Linked DNA regions of Homo sapiens: region 1 is linked to region 2. Evidence: promoter capture Hi-C in human tissues and cell types (Jung and others, 2019). All regions are on one chromosome and are shown on one strand. The core of a region is centred on a gene start or on the middle of the fragment in contact, and the rest is flanking DNA. Distances in the headings are between cores, read along the strand shown. Region 1 overlaps RGPD8 (RANBP2 like and GRIP domain containing 8). Region 2 holds the start of ZC3H6 (zinc finger CCCH-type containing 6).

What was found. Contacts are between HindIII fragments. The study calls those that stand out against the background at their distance.
Region 1: a contact is called between a fragment that was not itself captured here and the fragment with the promoter of ZC3H6 in region 2, in 1 of the 25 tissues and cell types used here (dorsolateral prefrontal cortex).

The regions. Positions count from the first base shown.
Region 1 is chr2:112,426,484-112,433,266 of GRCh38, forward strand. The region is part of intron 1 of RGPD8 (RANBP2 like and GRIP domain containing 8); the gene reads right to left. Among named protein-coding and RNA genes, the nearest start is that of RGPD8, 3.8 kb to the right of the region's middle. The HindIII fragment of the contact is 7,995 bases long and covers 740-6,783 here.
Region 2 is chr2:112,274,347-112,280,724 of GRCh38, forward strand. ZC3H6 (zinc finger CCCH-type containing 6) reads left to right here and starts at 1,251. Exons shown (of 12, transcript NM_198581.3): 1 at 1,251-1,680. The coding sequence starts at 1,649. RefSeq lists enhancers at 953-1,525, 1,141-1,350 and a silencer at 1,541-2,020. The HindIII fragment of the contact is 17,114 bases long and covers 1-4,771 here.

The DNA.
Region 1 (6,783 bases), core at 3,487-5,986, 160 kb after region 2:
CGGGTGACGCAGGTAAGTAAAACCACGTAAGGCAATACTGTGGATAAGAAGGGACTACTGTACCAGCAACGAACAATCAGAAAATGAAATTAAGAAAGCAATTCCATTTACAATCGCATCTAAAAGAAAAAAATGCCTGGGAATAAATGTAAACAAGGAGGTGAGAGACTTGTATGCTTAAATTACAAAACCTTGCTCAATGCCAGGCTAACACCTGCAATCCCAGCACTGGCGACAGAGCAAGACTCCGTCTCAAAAAAAAAAAGAACTATAGCAATCTTAACAAAAATAATACACAACAGTCAGGACAGCACATAAAGGAACAAGTCCTGTTCCCCCCTTCCTTTTTTTTTTTTTTTTTGAGATGGAGTCTTGCTCTGTCGCCAGGCTGGAGTGCGGTGGCTCGATCTCAGCTCACTGCAACCTCTGCGTCCCGGGTACAAGCTGGGACTACAGGCGCACGCCACCATGCCCAGCTAATTTTTGTATTTTCAGTAGAGATGGGGTTTCACCATGTTGGCCAAGATGGTGTCGATCTCTCGACCTTGTGATCTGACTTCTTCCGCCTCCCAAAGTGCTGGGATTACAGGCATCAGCCACCGAGCCCGGCCAGTTCCCCCTTTTCAAAATGAAGAAATAGATTCAAGGTACAATGCCAAAACATAATAGAAAAATAATTCCATTACCTTCTTTGCTTCCAACTATGTTAAAACATAATAGAAAAATAATTCCATTACCTTCTTTGCTTCCAACTATGTTATTAAAGTAGACAATCTTAAGATAATTAAACAACTTTACAAATTATTCTTCTATATGATCTTTTGCCTCTAACCTGCTCACTTTACAAGGGAACTGAAGCTCAAGCAGACAAATGCCTTGTTTAAAGATATACAGCTAGAAAGGAGCACAGCCCATGTTATGTAAACAGGACAATATCTGATGCAAGCAGTACTTCTTTACATGACAGCAGATGTCACTATAAGCAAATACCTGAATTCACTTAAGCTGCCAAATATCAAGAACTGATGCAGGGCTGAAAACAGGAACAGTAAGACCCTAAGAGATGCCACATCATCGCTATCTTGCACAGTAAGATAGAGATGTAATTGTAATTGTCCAAAACTTAATATTTGTGGCCTACTTTTTCATTATGCAGTTCTAAATTTCTCTCTTTTTTTTTTAATTCAAACGGAGTCTCACCCTGTCGCCCATCTTGCACAGTCAAATGAATCTCCCTCCCCCTAAAATCCTCCAAAAAAGCTGCTGTTCTCAACAAACCCATCTGATCAGCTCCAAATCTGTGGAGTCCCAACAAGGGTGAAGGCCGTGATTATACAGGACAATGAGGAAAAGTCTAGATACTGAACCATGAGTTCCCCAATCTTCTTCCCCTGGAACATAAGGGTAAGGAAATCTCTCAAAAGGCAGAACAAACAAAAGAGGAGAATAAGAGAAAAATTAGAGAAACTCCAGCTTTCAGGTAAACATCATTAAAAAAAAGGGTAAGAAATGGTCAAAGAAATAATACAAGAAATGCTACAGAACTGAAAGAAATGAGTTTCCCAATTGAAAGGACACTTCCAGAAAACCTTTAAGTTACCAAGAACAAGAATCTCATGGGACTCCTAACAACAGAACTTCTAGAAAATGGAGCAATGCTTTCAAAATTGCAAAAAAAATTATTTGAAACTCAGAATTCGATAACCAAATGATCAACTAAATTAAGTAAAGATGTTTTAAAGACATACCATTAGTTTCTAGACCAGCCTGACCAGTATGGTGAAATCCCATCTCTACTAAAAATAGAAAAAATTAGCCGGGCATGGTGGCGCACACCTGTAATCCCGCTACTCGGGAGGCTGAGGCAGGAGAATCACTTGAACCTGGGAGGCGGAGGTTGCGGTGAGCTGAGACCATGCCACTGCACTCCAGCCTGGGCAACAGAGCAAGACTCTGTCCCATAACAAAAACAAACAAAAAAACCTCTCATCCACTTTTCCTCAAAGCAAGTGAGACTATGCTACACCAAAACAAAGAAAGTAAATGAAGAGGACATGAGATACAAGAAACAAAGGGTCTAACTCAGAAAAAAGATGAAGGGAATTCTCAAACTGGTGATAAAGGGAAGTCCCAAGAGCACAGCTGTGTAGCAAAGAGGAAGAAAAACCAATCCGGGTTGGAGAAGTTGGTTAGTAAGGGTATTCCAGGTAGACAGACAATCAATCAATCAATCAATGTTTTAAGCTGAAATTGATGGGATTATGTGACCAGTTTGACCACATTTGAGGGTTTAAATTGCTGAGTTTAAGTAAGCAAGTAGTAACACAACATACAAGCAAACCAAAAAATAAAGCAATTATTCAGTCCAGGAAAACGTGGGTGCAGCACACCAGCATGGCACATGTATACATATGTAACTAACCTGCACAATGTGCACATGTACCCTAAAACTTAAAGTATAATAAAAAAAACAACAAAAAACTGCACAACAAGGGCAATTCAAATGCAAAAATATTTACCTTCTATTTATATAAATGTTAACTATTCATTTAAACAAAAACTGCAGTAACAGTACTGAAAGAATGAGGGGCAAACCAAAGTGTCTGAGGACAGTTTTGGAGGAGCATAATAGCCAGTACAGAATGTCTAAAATGGGGCCGGGCGCGGTGGCTCACGCCTGTAATCCCAGCACTTTGGGAGGCTGAGGCGGGCGGATCATGAGGTCAGGAGATTGAGACTATCCTGGCTAACACGGTGAAACTCCGTCTCTACTAAAAATGCTAAAAAATTAGCCGAGTGTTGTGGCGGGTGCCTGTAGTCCCAGCTACAGGCTGGGGCAGGAGAATGGCGTGAACCCCGGAGGCAGAGTTTGCAGTGAGCCGAGATCGCGACACTGCACTCCAGCCTGGACGATAGAGCCAGACTCCGTCTCAAAAAAAAAAAAAAAAAAAAAAGAAAAGAAAAGAAAATGTCTAAAATGGGAGAAAGGGAATTAAAAATAACAAAAGTATATATGTGTGTTACTCAGAAGTATGAAGTATAGATGTAAAGGGCAGAAAAAACAACTAACAGCTGTCAAAGGTGCCTGCCTGTAGTCCTAAGTACTCAGGAAACAGAGGTAGGAGGATCATTTACGCCCAAAAATTTGATGAGCAACACAGCAAGACCCTATTCTAAAAAACAAATAAATAAAAATAAGAGCTGTCAAGTAGACTTTGAGAAGTAGGAATCAGCTGCAGAATAAGAAATCGACTTGACAGAACATAGAAAAACTAAACAGAAGCCATCGGGAAAAAGAAAAACTAGAGAAAGAATTATATTTTTTTCCTTTTTTCTTTTTTGGAGACAGAGTCTCGCTCTGTCACACAGGCTGGAGTGCAGTGGCGCAATCTCTGCTCACCACAACCTCTGCCTCCAGGGTTCAAGCAATTCTCCTGTCTCAGCCTACCGAGTAGGTGGGACTACAGGCGCTGCCACCACGCCCGGCTCATTTTTGTATTTTTAATAGAGACAGATTTTCACCATATTGGTCAGGCTGGTCTCTCGGCCTCCCAAAGTGCTCGGATTACAGACGAAGAATATTTTTAAGAAGGGCAAAAGCACATGTGAGGGAGTAGAAAAATGGCAAAACAAGAGAAGACTAACAAATGAAAGCACAATGGAAGACTAGAAAGATATGATATACAGACGCATCATCACACACCAAAACTCCGACATTCTAGAAGGCATGGGCAGTTCACAGATGGCCAGCCTCTGCCAAACTGGGGGAGAATACTAACCTCTTCATATTCTTCACAGCCACTGCCTCTTCTCCCTCCATTCTTTACCTTCTATCCAAAGCACCCTGTTTTGTCATTTCACTCAAACCTAACTTTACAGAATAGCTTCACATGTTCCAGTTACTCACTAGTTAATCCATATTCCGCTGAAATCCCCAGGTTCTAATGTAAATGACTTTAAATTTGGGGGGGAAAAAAAGACTCTAAGTGTAAGAGAGGTGGTCATAATAACCAATCGTCAAAATGTTGCTACCACTCCACTTTATTTAATGGAGAAGTTATGTAGTTGAAAGAACATTCTGACTTCTGTCTAGACCAGTGGTTTTTAATCTTTTGGAAGCCAAGGTCCCCACTAAGAATCTCAGAAAGGCTCTAAGGTTGCTTTTTTTTTTTTTTAAGCTTGTTTAAAAAAAAAATCAGGCTGAGCAGAGTGGCTCACACCTGTAATCTCAGCACTTGGGGCCAAGGCGGGAGGATCACTTGAGCCCAGGAGTTGGAGACCAGCCTGGGTAACATGGTAAGACCCCGTCTCTACATTAAAGAAAAAAGCCGGGCATGGTGGCGCATGCCTGTAGTCTCAGCTACCCAGGAGGCTAAGGTGGGAGGACGGATTGAGCCCAGGACGTCAACGCTGCAGTGAGCCACGATCCCGCCACAGCACTCCAGCCTGGGAGACAGAAAGAGACCTTGTCTCAAAAACAAAATAATGGCCGGTGCAGTGGCTCACGCCTATAATCCCAACACTTTGGGAAGTGGAGGCGGGGAAATCACTTGAGCCCAGGAGTTCAAGAACAGCCTGGGCAACATGGTGAAACCCAGTCTCTACCAAAAATACAAAACAAAACAAAACAGCGGGTGTGGTGGGTACACCTGTGGTCCCAACTACTCGGGAGACTGAGGTGGGAGGATCGCTTGAGCTGGGGAGGCGGAAGCTGCAGTGAGTCGAGATAGTGCCACTGCATCCAGCTGGGTGACAGAGTGAGACCCCACCTCAAAAAAAATAAAATAACACAAAAATTAAAGTCTTTAATTTCAGGAGTTACAGGAACCCTCAATTAAGGTCTGTTTTAGACTCTTACCATCACATTCATATTTATACTATGCTAGCAGTTTGAAATTACAACGTACAAGTAGATATCTATCCTTCTCTGGAGGAATAGACTGTAACTTACTGCACTGTTCCCAAGAGAAACTAAATCAGACCCACTGCCAAAATTCTGCTGCACTACCCATTTGACCCTGAACAAGTATCTTAAATCTCTACAGGTCTCAATATCCACAGGGTTGCTGGAAGCGCAAAATAAGATAACCTATGCTTAGTTATGATAAGAGACACAATTATGCTACTATTATAATCATGGTCATCCGTGAGTTTCTGGTTTTTTTTTTTTTTTTCTGGAGTCTCCCTCTGTCGCCCAGGCTGGAGTGCAGTAGCGCGATCTCGGCTCACTAGAACCTCCGCCTCCCGGGTTCAAGCGACTCTCCTGCCTCAGCCTCCCAGGTAGCTGGGACTACAGGCGTGCGCCACCACGTCCGGCTAACTTTATTTGTATTTTTAGTAGAGACAAGGTTTCAACATGTTAGCCAGGCTGGTCTCGAACTCCTGACCTCAGGCAATCCGCCCTCCTCGGCCTCCCAAAGTGGTGGGATTACAGGCGTGAGCCACTGCGCCCGGCCAATATCCTTTTAACATCAACAATAAAAAGTGACTTGTAGCTAACATTTAGTGCTATGTGTCAAGCAATAACCTAAATGTTTAAAATGGATCATCCTATCAAATTCTATCAATGTTACAACTCCATCTATGGATGAAAAGTGTAAGTGGCCCCAAATACCCAGCTTATAAACGACAGTGCTGTGATTATTCAAGCCAAAGCAAACTGACTCAAGATTCTGCGCACATCCACCTTTAATAGCTTCTTCCGTCACTCTTTAGATCCAATGACTAAAGTCTTATTGAATCCAAAATAGATCACATTATTTACCTGTAAAGAGGAAAAATACCCTAAAAACACTTGTGGAAAAGGTTAAAAATTGTAAGCCATACTAACGATTTGTAAGAACTTTAGAATTTTTTTTTTTTAAGCAAAGGCAGCTACCAAAGTGTTCCGGGCGGGGAGGGGGGCGAGGGAGGTGAGTATGAGGAGTGGAGTGGAGCTGGACCCTTACAAAGGGACAGCGACAAACACCTCATACTCAAAACAAGGGGACTTTCCGTGTCATTTGTGCCATCGGGCCATTGCAAATGTCCACGCTGAGATGCCTACCTTGTCACTCGACGCAGCCGCCAAAGCTCACCCGGAGCTGCGTCAGTCCCCACTGGGTTCCTCCAGGCCAAGGAGGTACGACCTCCGCCGCGGCATATAAAGTAAATGTCCAGGACATGGGAAGAAACCCGCCGATACAGCACCCGGGTGCCCAAGCCCCCGAGAACTAGGCCGCGCGGGTACTACGGGGCCAGAAAGCCCGGGCCAGGGCGAGCCCACGAGCGAGCACCGTCGGGAACAAACCGGGAGAAAGAGGAAGAGCCGGCGCCAAAGGTCTCCCGCCCGCCGCGGTCCCCCCAGGACTCTTCCTGCGCTTGCAAGCGCCACGCCGCCCACAGGACTGCGCTAGCCGGCCTCCGCCTCAACAGAGCGCGCCAGGGAGCAGCGCCCTCGGGAGCCATGACCCCTGACCCATCGAGGCCGCCGCCGGGCCGGGTCGAGGCCGCCGCCTCAACAGAGCGCGCCAGGGAGCAGCGCCCTCGGGAGCCATGACCCCTGACCCATCGAGGCCGCCCCCGGGCCGGGTCGAGGCCGCCGCCTCAACAGAGCGCGCCAGGGAGCAGCGCCCTCGGGAGCCATGACCCCTGACCCATCGAGGCCGCCGCCGGGCCGGGTCGAGGCCGCCGCCTCAACAGAGCGCGCCAGGGAGCAGCGCCCGTCGGGAGCCATGACCCCTGACCCATCGAGGCCGCCGCCGGGCCGGGTGGAGGCCGCCGCCTCAACAGAGCGCGCCAGGG
Region 2 (6,378 bases), core at 1-2,500:
TCATTGCAATTGTTTTTGAATGCATTCCATTTATGTATTAGTAAAATGTATTATTAAGGAAAGACAAATTAAGTCAGATATTTGGATTAATCATTGAGTCTATCATTTTAGTAAAAAGCAAGGAACTTTCCTTCAGGACTAATATATTAAATAGGCCAAAACACTGACTTGTCATTTAAAAATTTTTTAAGGTCACTTCATAAGTATAAAAAACTCATGCATGGTCGGGCGCGGTGGCTCACGGCTGTAACCCCAGCACTTTGGGAGACCCAGGAGGGCGGATCACCTGAAGTCAGGAGTTCGAGACCAGCCTGGCCAAAATGGGGAAACCCCATCTCTACTAAAAATACAAAAATTAGCCAGGCGTGGTGGCGCGTGCCTGCAGTCCCAGCTACTCGGGAGGCTGAGGCAGGAAAATTGCTTGAACCCAGGAGGCAGAGGTTGCAGTGAGCCGAGAGCGCGACACTGCACTCCAGCCTGGGCGACAGAGGAGACTCCATCTCAGAAAAAAAAAAAAAAAAAAAAAAAAAAAAAAAAAAAAAAGGCATGCCTAATAGTATTTATAAAATACTCGCATACATTTTACATGTTAATATTATTACGAAATAAAGTAACGTTTATATAATTATTTCAATAGCTATTCCTATTTAAGTAATAATTGGGTAAATTTAACAGCAAATACAAGAAAAAACTGCATGGCAAGCTATTTTCCTTAAAACATGATTCTGAACACTAAACGTTACAAAAACAGATACTTGCTACAACTGTGAAGGAGAAACTGCATTTCCCTATTATTACAAGAACAAAGGTTTTCACAAAAAAATTTAAGGACTCTACAGCCGCCTTGTTCTTTGTTATCCCACCCCTGCCCGCCTCGGCTAACGGTTTTGGGGCCCGTTTGCTTGGTGCGTCTGGAACTCCTCGGGCGGCGGGCGTCTCGCAGGAAAAACCGCGGCCCGTACTGCGCCGGGAGCAGAAGCGCTGGTGGCCCTCGTAGGTCCCGTGGGCTGCCTCCCCCTCCTGCAGACACTCGAGGAGCCATCCGGCCGCGTCTCTCGCCGCCCGGCCCCGCCACTAGGCTGCCGCCTCCGCCGCTGCACAGAGAAGGGCGAAGACCCGCCCCTGCAGGTGATTGACGGGCACTCTCCTCCAATGGTCAACGCGCTCGGCCCCGGCGGGCTGGGCAAGGGCCGCGGCTCGCGGAGGAATCTCTCTTGCCCTTTAGTCCCGGGCAAGGTGTTGCGGCCGGCGCCATTTTCTCGAGCCGCCTGTTTCGGGTGCCGCCATGTTGGTGAGGAGAAATCACCGTTACGGCCACTGTCCAAATCCCCGCGTCGCTGCACGCCGCCCGCCCGCTCCCACGCCACAGCCACCGGCGGCGAATAGAGACTAGAGCGGCAGCGCCGGCAGCGCGGGGCCGTTGCCCAGTGTTTGCAGTTAGAGCCCCATCTCTCTGGCGTGGTTGTTAATAGACTGGAAAGTCTGTGTCTGTGTCGCTCACTAGTAACCGTGAGTTTTTACCACTTCGTCACCTGTCGGCGGCGGCCGGGAGCAGGTTCCCGCAGGCGGCGCGGGGGGTCTTCCCCGCGCCCCGCCGCCGCCGGCCTCGCAGACCTGCCCTCCAGCCCCGCCCCGTTCTTGACCAAACATGACAGACTCTGAACATGCAGGGCACGACAGGTCGGGAACCCTTCTTGTCTGTCTTTCTGTCGGATGAGAGGAGGGGTCTGGGGCGGCGGGAGCGGGCCGGGGCCGGGCGCCTCCTGCATGACCTAGACGTCTCTGTGTGGCTCCGTCAGTTCCATGACGCGCACTCTTATGTAAACTGCTGGATCGCGGCCGCGGGGGAGGTCGGCCCGGCCGCGCCCGCCTCCCCGAGCCGGGGTCGCTGCTCGCCAGCGCCGGCCCCGCCCCCGGCCGGGCACGTGCGAGCCCCCCGCCCCCCGGGCGGGCTCCGTGTGCGCCGGGCGGCTCTCAGCGTCCCGGCTCGGTGCTGAGGTCCTGCTTCTGCCCGTCCAGGTGTCGGTGCTCCCGGCCAGATAGGACCAGCCAGGAATTTTCAGGAATGGGTGTTTTGATATTTGACTGCTTCCCGAGAACCGAGAACACCTCTAAAAAAATAAACATTTGGTTTTCAGGGAAGTTTTAAGCAGCACCAAAAGGCCATCTGTTGTATACAGTCTTATCCCTTGGAATTTGAGATGGCAAGTTTCAAGTTTAATATGTTAACACAAAATACTTAGGCTTTGCAGAAACTTAGTTTAGCACAGTTTTACCCTAACGTAAAAACTCCATGGATTATTCCGGCTAGCCCAATTTTCTAGATGGTGTGTATCACTTGAATATTGAGATTCTGATTTTTTATTTTTTGCTCTGTGCCTTAAGAGGCACATTCTTGTTTCCATTCGAGTTTGGGGACATTTACAAAGTATACTGTAGCATACTTAAATTTTGGTTATAATTCAAATTTTCATTCGTATATATCTTTAATAATGCGAAAGGGGGGCTTTCATTCATTAAACTTACTGAAACAAAATCCATTGCATCTGATTCTTACTTAGAATATTAATTTGAAAATCTAGAACCTCACAATTACTCCTTTGTGAATAGAAGTAAGAAAAAATATACGTTTTACTATAGACTATATACATTGCTGAAGTTTTATCTGTAGTAATGTGATCGGCTTGGTAAAGCATCCTAAACACGTTTTTTAAAACCCAGAAGCAAAAATCACAAACACTGCTGAAATTTGAAATATCTAAATACCTAGCAATCTTGAGAGGGATAAAAATGGTATTTCAACAACTTCAGTATTGTAATAATAAAAGTAGATTCCCAGAGGGCACGTCAATCAAAGTGTAAAAATTTTTGGAAAGTAAAATGCACTTTTAAAAATGATAAGCTTGCACTTGGCACATTTTTAATGATTTTTTTAACGTTATCTTTTGTATTAAAAAGGAAATTCTTAGAATGGGTTGACTAATACCTTGCTCTTGAGGTATGGACAAACCAATGATGGGGTTTTGCTAATGGAGCCTAAAATCCTTTTTTTTTTTAATATGGAAGAATATCTGTTCCCCTCTCTTAGTGCACAAAGTAACTTCTATATATGGAGTTATGTATTGTACATCATGAAAAAACAATGCCATCAAATTCAAGTATCAAAATAATTTTGCTGGTAAGGAACTGTGATGACAGACCTTTTAAAGAATTTGAAATTTTAAAATACTGGTTTAGAGGTTAGAAAACTTTAAAGAATTATTTGTAAGATATGTTAATAGGTTGGTAGTAGGAGCTAAAGATTAAGATTAGTCTATTTTATTTAAAATTCGGACTAAAAGTATTTTCTAGTGATTTCTGAAACAAAAAGGTTAGCTCCACTTTAACTTAGCCAATTGTTAAGTGGCATCATTGTGCTGAGATGAAGGAGATGGTTTTTTTTTTTCATGCTTTTTTTGTCAACCCACATGAAAAACAAAACAACTACATCAAAAACAAAGTGAACTAGAAGTCAGGAGAAATTCTACAAGATCAGATCAATGGTTCTAAACCTTCCCTGGGGAACTTTTTTTCTTTAAAGTATTGGCGCTATTTCTGTTGGTCTGGACCTCAGCCTGGGTTTTAAGAGTTCTAAAAGCTCCCCAGGAAATTCTAATATGTGCCAAATTGAGAACCGCTATACTCGATCAGTGTTTCCCAATGATAGTTAATCATCAGAATCACTTTGGGGAATAAATTTTTGTTCTGCCCAGAGCAACTGAATCAGAATCTCTAGGGTATTTTTCATAGGCTCCCTGGGAAATTCTTAAGAAATTTGGGGAAAAAATGGACTAATCTGCGGGCTTCCAAAATACTGTATCTTTCCATATAATAGCTATTTTATGCTGTTATAAAAGTTTCTGTGAATTAAGTGGAGAAAAATATATGAAACTTGGTATATGGAGCTAGGCTTTGTCTCAAGGATTTTATTTTATTTATTTTATTTTTTTGAGACGGAGTCTCGCTCTGTCGCCCAGGCTGGAGTGCAGTGGCACTGTCTCAGCTCACTGCAAGCTCCACTTCCCGCCTTCACACCATTCTCCTGCCTCAGCCTCCTGAGTAGCTGGGATTACAGGCACCCGCCACCACACCTGGCTAATTTTTTGTATTTTTAGTAGAGACCACGTTTCATCATGTTGGACAGGCTGGTCTTGAACTCCTGACCTCAAGTGATCCACCAGCCTTGGCCTCCCAAAGTTTTGGGATTACAGGGGTGAGCCACTGTGCCCAGCCAAGGATATTCTTTTTATAACATTTTCAAAAATTAAGGCATATTGTGTATGCAGGAAAAAAAATGAAGCCTATGATTTATATTTACAATTGCTTTGATTTTATACAAATTAAAATATTACTGTTTATGAGAATGAGATTCTAAATGTAAATGGAATTCACAGAATGCATAATTTTTTTCTCGTTTAAAGAAATAGAGTCTCGCTATATGCCTAGGCTGGTCTTGAACTCCTGGGCTCCAGCCATCCTCCCATTTCAGCCTCCCAGAGTGTTGGGATTACAGGCGTGAGCCACCACGCCTGGCCTTGTACATGTTATATAGTGAACATTTTGCACAAGATTGTTTGCCAAATGAATAATTTAAAAAAAATCCATTTAGTGTACTTTCCTTTAAATATTTTCACACCTGGAGTTAAAACATTGTATTTTATAAGATGTTATTAATATAAAAATACTTCTAATTCTACTTGTGGCTATGTAGAATGTAGTAGAGGACTTTTGCATAAGCCCAGAGCCTAGTTTCTAAAGGTCTTTAGGGATTTAGGGAAATCAGAGGGAGGTATAATTCTGGTCTCTCGTCGTTCAGTTCTTTTTCATTCAGTTCTCTCAGGCACGACTCCAGCCGCTCAGTTTTATATTTCAACTGGATGTTGACCCAATTAAAACAATTCACAACTCCTGAAGACGAAATACTATGAGTCCCTGCTTTGGACACATCTGTAGTAGAGTAGGAAAAGATAAATATAACCCAAGTAATTGTTACAGAATTTTCTGAAATATACTAATGGTAAAAGGTTTTGTAGGGCTTGTACTGGGGAAAAAGATAATTTTTTAGCATGAACCTTTTAAGAGCTTGTGAGTCTCAAAGAGTCTTTAACTGATAGGTGATATGGATAATACTCCCCTTTGGGAGGAGGTTTATAATACATAAACAACCTCCCCACCCTTCCCTCGCAGCTTTCTGTCCTGTACTACAAGAACAACAAAACTCCAACTAGTCAGAATTGCAAGTGGTTTATGGCCCCCCATATAGATTGAAAACTTGCTAAGAGACTGCACTGGAGAACCTGAAAGGATGAGGATGGAAAAGATGATTATACTTTTCATTTGCAACAGGGCTTTCATTTGATTCTCACATTAATCCCATGTGGTAGTTAATTAAGGTAGCATTACAAGGTTCAGTGAATTGTCTGAGATCTCATAAATACAACCTAGATAAGAACCCAGGTATTATTATTTTCAGTCTTGCAATATTATTTTCCTACTTGCAATATTATCTTCACTCTTCATTAAGTTTGCACAGCAAAGTAATGGAATAAGTTCTGGGCTTTAATCCTTGAGTAGTTTGGAATTGTAATGTGCTACATTTGAGAGAGAGCCCTTCATTTTGAATAAAACCTTGGTACTGATCCTGATCTTCTAACTTGGGTTAATGCTCTTCCCCTTTTCATTATTTTTTTCATTTGTGAAATGAAGTAGTTGCACTAGATCATTTTCAATTTTCCTTCCCACTTAAATCAATTTTAATTAAAAAAATTGCAGATGCCTTTTCTCAGATTAGAGTACACTTTTTGCTCCACACAATATCTGGTTTGTAAATTAGTATGTTCCGTGGAGTAAATAACTTTCCTGACTAGCCATTAACTTACTTCTGATTCCTGAATCCACTAATTTAACTATTGTTGAAATTACTAAAGGAAATTTTTCTTTAGCAAATGTAAAACCTCGTATCAGGTCTCAGGTTTGATGTTGTAAAGCACTCTGACTCTCAGGAAGACTCTTTTTTTCCCCCAACCTCTCATAAACAAATATTTCATTCATTATAAAATTTCATTCATTACATTTTCATTCCTCAGACTTAACAGTGTTTCGTCTCTGCTAAGTATAGTGTTAAGCACTGACAAAAGAACTCTGGACACAACATCATGAACTTGCTCTCTGGGATCTTATAATCTAGTTGCAGAAACAGATTGGTAAATACATAGTATAGCACAAGTACTATAATGGAGGCCTGAACTGAGTGCTGTGGGGGTACACAGATGAAGGCTTCTGGGAGACATCATGGCATAACTAGACCTGGAGGATGAATAAAACTTTGGCCAAGTAAAT